Linked DNA regions of Homo sapiens: region 1 is linked to region 2. The links are contacts of gene promoters, found by promoter capture Hi-C in blood cells and fetal thymus (Javierre and others, 2016). All regions are on one chromosome and are shown on one strand. The core of a region is centred on a gene start or on the middle of the fragment in contact, and the rest is flanking DNA. Distances in the headings are between cores, read along the strand shown.

The links. The method cuts DNA at HindIII sites, captures the fragments that hold promoters and counts their contacts. A CHiCAGO score of 5 or more calls a contact.
Region 1: the fragment with the promoter of ABCF3 here is called in contact with the fragment with the promoter of THPO in region 2 in 7 of 17 cell types (naive CD8 T cells, non-activated CD4 T cells, total B cells and 4 more); the score reaches 10.3 in naive CD8 T cells.

Annotation. Positions count from the first base shown.
Region 1 is chr3:184,184,854-184,189,169 of GRCh38, forward strand. ABCF3 (ATP binding cassette subfamily F member 3) reads left to right here and starts at 1,346. Exons shown (of 21, transcript NM_018358.3): 1 at 1,346-1,427; 2 at 1,654-1,801; 3 at 1,943-2,022; 4 at 2,544-2,590; 5 at 2,811-2,908; 6 at 3,008-3,130; 7 at 3,288-3,554; 8 at 3,908-3,988; 9 at 4,076-4,135; 10 at 4,235-4,291. The coding sequence starts at 1,355. RefSeq lists enhancers at 139-853, 1,331-1,650. The HindIII fragment of the contact is 6,180 bases long and covers 1-4,316 here.
Region 2 is chr3:184,375,868-184,379,710 of GRCh38, forward strand. It overlaps THPO (thrombopoietin), which reads right to left and starts at 2,340. Exons shown (of 6, transcript NM_000460.4): 1 at 2,208-2,340; 2 at 380-537; 3 at 21-148. The coding sequence starts at 392. The HindIII fragment of the contact is 10,240 bases long and covers 1-3,843 here.

The sequences.
Region 1 (4,316 bases), core at 96-2,595, 190 kb before region 2:
AGCCAAGATCACGCCACTGTACTCCAGCCTGGGCAACAAGAGCGAAACTCCTTCTCAAATTAAAAAAAAAAAAAAAAAGAATATAATGAATCTCCATGTCTCATCACCCAGCTTCAACTATGATCAATGCGTGGCCAGTTCCTTAATATCACATCCAGTTTGTGTTCACTTAACCAGGTGTCTTATCAAATTTTTCCAGATAAGGTCCATTGTGGTTGGTTAATGCTCCTCAAATTTTAAAAATTGATGTTTCCCTTCAGGTCTTGCAATTTTGTGGAAGAAACCAGAGTTCTGTAGTTTACCACATCAGAATTTGCCTGTTGTCCCCATGAAGTCACTTAACATATTCCTCTTTACCTGTATTTCCTGTAAAATGGTTCAATATCGGGATTGATGCCTCATGATGGCAATGTTTAATCCAAAGGGATGAATGGGTAATAATGTAATTTTCGGTGCCACTTTTAGAGACCAATTGGAGGAATATTCACGTTAAATATAAAGCAGTAGCATCATTTTGGAGGAAATTCCTAACTTCCCGAGGGAATCGGTGAAAGGAAATAGCCTTTTATTGGCATTTATTGAGTGCAGAGAAGTCTGCTCAGGGTGTAGGTAGGGAATAATTTATACAGGCCACGTTGTCCTGGTTTTCTTGCCCTTTGGCGGTGGATTTGGTCGTGCCCTGGGGTGGTGGAAGAACTGAATGGGCTTAATTCACAAAGGTCGGCTGAATTACACAGTGAAAAGGCGGTCGCGGCGGGGAGGCGGGTGGCGCTGGCCACCAGGCTGAGAAGCCCGTAGGGTCTGGGGACCCGCGAAAGCAAAGCACTGAGCAGGGGGCTTCTGAGAGTCAGGGACCGGGGTGAGTCAGCAAAGCTCTGGGCAGGCTCCAAAATGGGCCTGACTGGGTACGCACCAGCAGCAGACGCGCCTCGAGGGAGCGCATAAAACCTGGCAAAGCCAAAGTGCTTTATCAGCCGCCTGCCTCTTGGGAGGCTCCCACCCGCCAGACCACGGGTGCCTCGCGGCCCCGATAAACCTTGAGCTCCCAGCCTTTGCCCCACCCCTCGCTCCCGGAACTCCACCTCCCAGAAGGCAGCGAGAACCGCACATGTGGCTAATCTTTCAGCGGAAAAGGTGTCGCGCACGCGCAGAGAGCGCGGCTCCGGCGCAGACTCGGCGCCTCTCCTCAAGGCCCCGCTCGCCCCGCCCACCGGGCTCTGCGCACTCCGCTCCTTTCCTGCGTCACCGCTACACATGCGCCTTGCAAGGAAGGGCGAGATTTCGGGGGCAGGGCGGGGGGCGGGCCTAGGCCGGGGTCTCACAGCGACTGCGCGGACGGGTTCCTGAGTGGAACATGGCGACTTGCGCCGAAATCCTGCGGAGCGAGTTCCCCGAAATTGACGGACAAGTCTTCGACTACGTGACCGGTAAGCAGAACTGAATCGGCCGGCTGGGGAGACCGAAGTGGAGGCCGGGGGAAAGTCTAAGCGAGCGTCGTGCCCGGGACTGTTGCCAGGCCTCTCCTCTGCATGACCTCTTGTCCCGGGGGCTGGTTGGGTCTGGAGCCTGGACTGGGGCCTCTGTCTGGGGTCTGAAACTGCTTGTGTGTCCACCCTACCCGATACCTTCCTCGTTCTACCACGCCCTGCCCAGGCGTCTTGCACAGCGGCAGCGCGGACTTCGAGTCTGTGGATGACCTGGTGGAAGCTGTAGGGGAACTATTGCAAGAGGTGTCCGGGGACAGCAAGGATGACGCGGGCATCAGGGCCGTGTGCCAGCGCATGTACAACACTCTGCGTCTGTATGTGCCAGGGAGTAGGGGTTGATGGGGGCGAAGGGACGGCGAACGGTCCGGAGACAAGAGGTGGGGGAGGAAGATCTGATGGCCATAGAGCTTTTCCCTCAACTCCTAACTCTGCGCTTTCTATCCCTACCCACATAGGGCTGAGCCACAAAGCCAGGGAAATAGCCAGGTGCTACTGGACGCCCCTATCCAGTTGTCAAAGATAACGGAGAACTACGGTGAGAGTGAGGGGAGGTTGAACTAACTGCCCCCCTGTGCTTTTCTCCGCCCCCAACCATCTGCTGCCTGCAGCTTAGGGCTCCTACGTCTTTTCCACAGGACAAGGTTGTAGGAGCTAGTTGATGTCTTTACCGAGGGCAGAAGAGCCCATGATGGGGGTGGGGAGGAGGTTGGAGGGTTCTCCCTCCAAGCTCTTGGGTAGGATAGGAAGCATAAGAGCCTGGAGCTGGACAGACTTGCTTTCACCCCCAGTTTTGCAACTTGCTAACCAGCTGCATGATCTTGTAAGAGTTGGTTATCTGTCCCCAGCCTTGTCTATGCCTCTGTATCCTTCTACGTGAGTTTTGTTTTGTTTTGTTTTGTTTTGTTTTTAGTGCAGGGAAGATAATAGCCATCTATCTGCAGTATTATAAGGTTTTGTAGAAAACATCTGTGTCTGTGCCTGGTTCCTATTAGTCACTCAAAATGTTAGTTTCCCTTCCCTCAGGGAGAAGGTGACTGCTTTTCTTATCGCTTACAGACTGTGGAACCAAACTTCCAGGACTGCTAAAGAGGGAACAGTCCTCGGTGAGGAGGAGGAAGCAAGGGAGGGGACTGTCTGTGATGGGGTTGGGAGTTGACTGTCTAATTGGAGTATCTTTTGGGGGGATTTCTGACTATGTCTTTTCCTGAGCCTTTGAGTCTGTTCATCATGGGTAAGTTAAGAGGGTTTACTCGAGATGTTCTCTCTTGGGGTTCCTTTCTGAGCCTACACCCGAGAGTGAAGTCGATGTGTTTGGACCCTTAGACAGTGAATGCAAAGAAGTTAGAGAAGGCCGAGGCTCGACTTAAGGCAAAGCAGGAGAAGCGCTCAGAGAAGGACACGCTCAAGACCAGCAACCCTCTGTGAGTGGGGGAAGCATGGCTCAGAAGAGAGCAGAGCAGCTTTTGCCTGGACAGAAGGTGGTGGGGAGCACTAAGAGCTGTCCATTTCTCCCTTTAAAGAGTCTTAGAAGAGGCATCAGCCAGCCAGGCAGGCAGCAGAAAGGAGAGTCGGTTGGAATCATCTGGCAAGAACAAATCCTATGATGTGCGAATTGAGAACTTTGATGTGTCTTTTGGCGATAGGTGAGGGAATAGTGGTGGCAGGGGTTGGCTTTCTTTTTCTAATTAGAGGACAATTTGGAGAGGTGAAACGGGGCTATAAACAATGTTAGGTTTGTCATTAAACTTGCTGTGCACCTATTTCTAGAGCATCTTTGGTCTCCTTTCTCCACTCCTGCAGAGTACTGCTGGCTGGAGCGGATGTGAACCTGGCATGGGGCCGCCGTTACGGGCTGGTGGGGCGGAATGGGTTGGGGAAGACAACGTTACTGAAGATGCTGGCCACCCGGAGTCTGCGGGTTCCAGCCCACATTTCCCTGCTGCACGTTGAGCAAGAGGTTGCTGGAGATGACACTCCTGCCCTGCAGAGTGTGCTGGAGAGTGACAGTGTGCGAGAGGATTTGCTACGGAGGGAGCGGGAGCTCACTGCCCAGATTGCTGCTGGCAGGTGAGGACTCCCGGCTAGGGAGTAACTAGCAGCCGCTGTCGCTTACAGAGCGCCTGCCGTCCTGGAACAATCCATAATTTGCATGTACATCCTAGTAATCAGCAGAGCTTAGAACTTGGCACTCTGGGACTCAGAAGCCCTTGTTCTTTCCACAGTGCCCATTGCCCTTTCTTGTTCTTTCCACAGTGCCCATTTCCATAGTGCCCAAGGTAATGAGCACTGTGCAAACCCTTCCTGTATTCTCTTCCTCTTCCAGCCACAAGGTAGCCAATGGCCTTTCCAACGGTATAGGGTGCAGGACATCCTCCTAGACTGCCCCTGCTTAGGCCAATTGCTGTTTCTCCTCCCTCCAGGGCGGAGGGCTCTGAAGCTGCAGAGCTGGCAGAAATCTATGCCAAACTGGAGGAGATTGAGGCTGACAAGGCACCTGCCAGGTATTTAAAGCTCCCCCTCCCTCCTTCAGATTTCCTTTCCCTTCTGTGGACTGTTCCAACTGAGTTCTTCGATTTCTTCTCTACTAGGGCATCAGTCATTCTCGCTGGGCTTGGCTTTACCCCTAAAATGCAGCAGCAGCCCACCCGGTGAGTGACCCTTGCCATTCTTGGCTTTGAACCCTGTTGTCTCAGCCCCTTCCTGCCCTGATGAACACCCACCCATAATGTGACTCCATCATTCTTTAGGGAGTTCTCAGGTGGCTGGAGGATGAGGCTGGCCCTGGCCCGGGCCCTCTTTGCTAGGTGAGTCTCCTGGGCCAGTGTATGA
Region 2 (3,843 bases), core at 1,090-3,589:
ATAATGTTGGGAGTTCTCACCAGTCTGCTGTGAAGGACATGGGAGTCACGAAGCAGTTTACTGAGGACTCGGAGGTCACAAGCAGGAGGAGCCGGGCTGGACAGCGTTAGCCTTGCAGTTAGGAGAAGCATGACCACGAGGAGCAATTCTTAGATGAGGAGAGGTGAGGTTGAAAGATGAGGAGGAAATCATTGTCAGCTGGTATTCCAGGAATTCCCATTCAGGACCCAGACCTGAAACCCAGGGAATCCACCCCTCAGACCCCTTATTTTTGGGAGAATGGGTTCCCCCAGCTTCCTGCCCCCTGCAGCGTGTCTCCTTTCTCTCTCCCCTTCTGTCATGTTTCCATATGGCCCTAGCCCCTCAGGTGTGTTCTCACCAGTCAGCTCCATTCTGGCCGGGGTGTCTGGCTGGCGTGGCTCCCTGTTTGGGGCCTCTCCCCTGAATCCTTCCTGGGGCCATGGAGGCGGCTTAGGCTCTTGCACTTCTGGGCAGAGTAGGGTGGGGCAAAGGCGGGCCAAGGGTGAAGAATCTATCCTGAAAGTAGCAAGAAGAGTGAACATTTAACCAAGTTTCTAGGAAGAGACTGCCTGGCAGGGTGAACAGATGCTGGGGAGGGCTTGAGATGCTGACCAGCCTGGAACTGCCAAAGCCCTGAATTCTCTCACATTTTCTTGTGATGAAAGCATATGGTGTGCCGGGTGCAGTGGCTCATGCCTGTAATCCCAGCACTTTGGGAGTCCAAGGCGGGTGGATCACCTGAGGTCAGGAGTTCGCCACCAGCCTCACTAACATGGTGAAACCCCGGCTCTACGAAATACAAAAAAACTAGCAGGGTGTGGTGGTTCATGCCTGTAATCCAAGCTACTTGGGAGGCTGAGACAGGAGAATCGCTTGTACCTGGGAGGCGGAGGTTGTGGTGAGCCGAGATCGCACCATTGCACTCCAGCCTGGGCAATAAGAGTGAAACTCCGTCTCAAAAAAAAAAAAGAAAGAAAGAAAGAAAGAAAGAAAGCAAGAAAGCATATGGTGTCTCCTTTTTGTCAGGACTCCTCAGTGAATCGGACATGGATTTGGTGCCACCTACCCCTGCTGAGAGCAGCAGGACATGATATGTATACACACATATCTTAATTAGCCTTAAATTCTGAGCAACCTTGGTTGTTAGGTCAGAGAAAATCTGGGATGGGGATAGAGAAGGAAAGTATTGTGGCTTCAGCCTGGAGAAGAGAGTGGAAAATGGGATGCAGGGCCTGGGTGAGGAACTGGCAAACGGGCGCAATATGTTGAGGGGTAACTTCTGCGGTGGGGAGTGGGGCTGGGGAGGGGAACTGCACAAAGCTGTAACTGGGACCACTAGAGGTCAGGATTAAAAGGCGGTATGGGAGAAATTAACCTCTATTCTTTCCCTATCTACCCCCACACATAAAGCCACTGGAGCTTTTCTCTGGACTCCAAGTCCTGAAATACTCCATTATCTGAGGCCAAGAGATGGGCTAACAGTTCTGGGACTTCCTTCCTGAGACCAGCTGCCCAGGAACGGGCACCTGCTGGGTGATGCCCACCTTAGGGGCTTACCTTGTCTTAGGCGCCCACTAACATATCTGTCTCATAGCTCACACCTGCCTCCCTGCCCCCTTGGCAGAACCCCTTCCGGTTCCTTCACAGGACCCCCCACATGGCTTCCTCCTCCTTTCACAAGTTGTGCAAAGAGGCTTGCACCTGATTCAATATTGGGATTTCCTGTAGGTCTGTCAACATGAGTGGGCCCTCCTCCCATTACCCTCTCCTTGCGCCCTGGCTTGCCTGGCCCAGCTTCCCCAGCACCAGATTCAGAACCTTAAGCTAACGAGGAATGACCAGCTAAGAATGGGGATTGGGGCTGTGTCCATCTTACTACTGTGTTTGCTAAGCCCTAAGTGCAGCTCCCTCTCTTATTTTCTCCCTGGGCTCATGTCCCCTTTCCTTAGGGCCAGCCAGGGCTGTGCTGTATTCCACCAAGTAAGTGATCAGTCCCTCAGAAACCAGCACCCCACCCCCTACCCCTGCTCTGCCCTGCTCCTCCCATTCTGGGAAGGCTACACTCTTCTCGACAAAGGTCAGTGCCTGTAGGTTCCAGTTTGCCTGCCCCTCCCCCAGCTGGGAGCCCATTTCTCTTTGCTGTCCTTTCTACCCTCACATAACCCCACACCCTGCTGGCCACTCACCGGGTGGAGAAGGGCTCCAGGACCCAAGTGCACAGCAGGCAGCCCTCTGGGGAGCAGATGGGTAGGAAGACATGTGGCGGTGGGGCACAGCCCCTCCACAGCAGCAGGTCATACGCCTGCCTGGGCCACTTCTGCCCAATCAGAGAAGGGAGCCACCAGACACTGGTGAAGGCCCCCGGAAGTGACGCCTTCTCTTCCCTGGAGCCCCTGCCTGGACCAGGGTCCACTCCTCCACCCACACACACCACGGAGAAGATTTGGATAGGGGGATCCATCTTTTCCTGGACATGGGCAACCTGGGACCTGGAGGGGGACAGGAGCAGAAGTTTTTTTCCAGGAGGAATCTGGCAGGACATTTGTGTTGCTGGGGAAGAAGCACAGAGGTCTTGTTTAAGATTGGTGGGGTTTTCACTCCCTGGCTATCCAAATTTCTTTTCCCTGGACATCATACCTGCTGCTGAAATCCAACAGGATGCTTGCTTTCCTGCTTTTCTTTCTGTAATCCCCTAGGGAGTCCTATCTTGTCATTCCCCCTTTCGAAGTGGGAACACGGATATTGCCCACATGAGAGAAATCTCCTGTTATGGGTTGGTGTTATGGGGAAAGGGTTTGGACGGGTTGAGTGGACTGTCAGGTGCGGGGCACATGTATGTGCGCACACGTGCACTGGGTTAAGCCTGAGCTTAGGTGCTCGTCTGCTGGGGTCCAGTGGCTTAGATGGCTACACACACAGACCTCTGTGCCCAGGGCCCTCCTTTGCTTGTTCTGTCTCCGTCTTCCATCTCCTACCGTTCCACATGTGACAAGAGGAATAACCAGGCCCATGTGTCCCTGTCTTAGGAAAGACAGCTGCTGGACCTCCCCCGCAAATACCTCCCTGCTGGCCCCCCTTTTCCTTTGGCCCTGGCTCTAGCTCCTTTGCTTTCTTCCCAGTCCCAGTCTCCCCACAGTCTCTGTCCTCAGGGGCTTCCTGGCCTGACCTTGATCCCATCATCCCCCTGTCCCCCAGAACTTCCTCAGGCTCTCTCCTGTTCCTCCTCCCCAAGGATGGGCATGTCTGCTGAGAAGTGTGGCCTAGATCCTGGAATTTTCCCGTCCAGCCAGACGAGATGTCTCCCAAGATTAGGAAGGAGGGTGCTGGGATAGCTGGGAGGATAGTGGGTGTGTGTGGGAGGGAGAGACAGGAGACAGGGAGGCAGGCATGACCAGGGAACCAAGAGAAAGGAGGCTGGGAGTGGGCTGGAGAGGCAGAGGGTCCCTTGGGTGAAGGAAGGGGGTGAGAAAGCAAGAGGGGACTGTCGAATGCGCCTGAGGATAAGTTACAATGAGAGGGAGATACTGTCACTCCACAGAAGGGGGAATGCTGCCGGTTTCTGGCTAGGTCCCTGTCCTGGGTAACACAAGAATGAGGAGCGACCTCAGAGAGAAGGTAGGGAGGCAGGCTAGGCAGTGAGAGAGGGTGGTGAGGGTTTGGGGGGCGCTGTGGGCCCAGGCAGGGGGAGATCGGCTGATGGACCTTTCCTGTACGTTGTCATCTTTAAAGACAAGTCTTCATCCTTCGGGCGGAACCGGGTCCTCGCTCACAGAGCGGTCCAGGCCTCAGGCCTAGCCTCTGCCCCTCCCTAGCCTGAGGCTC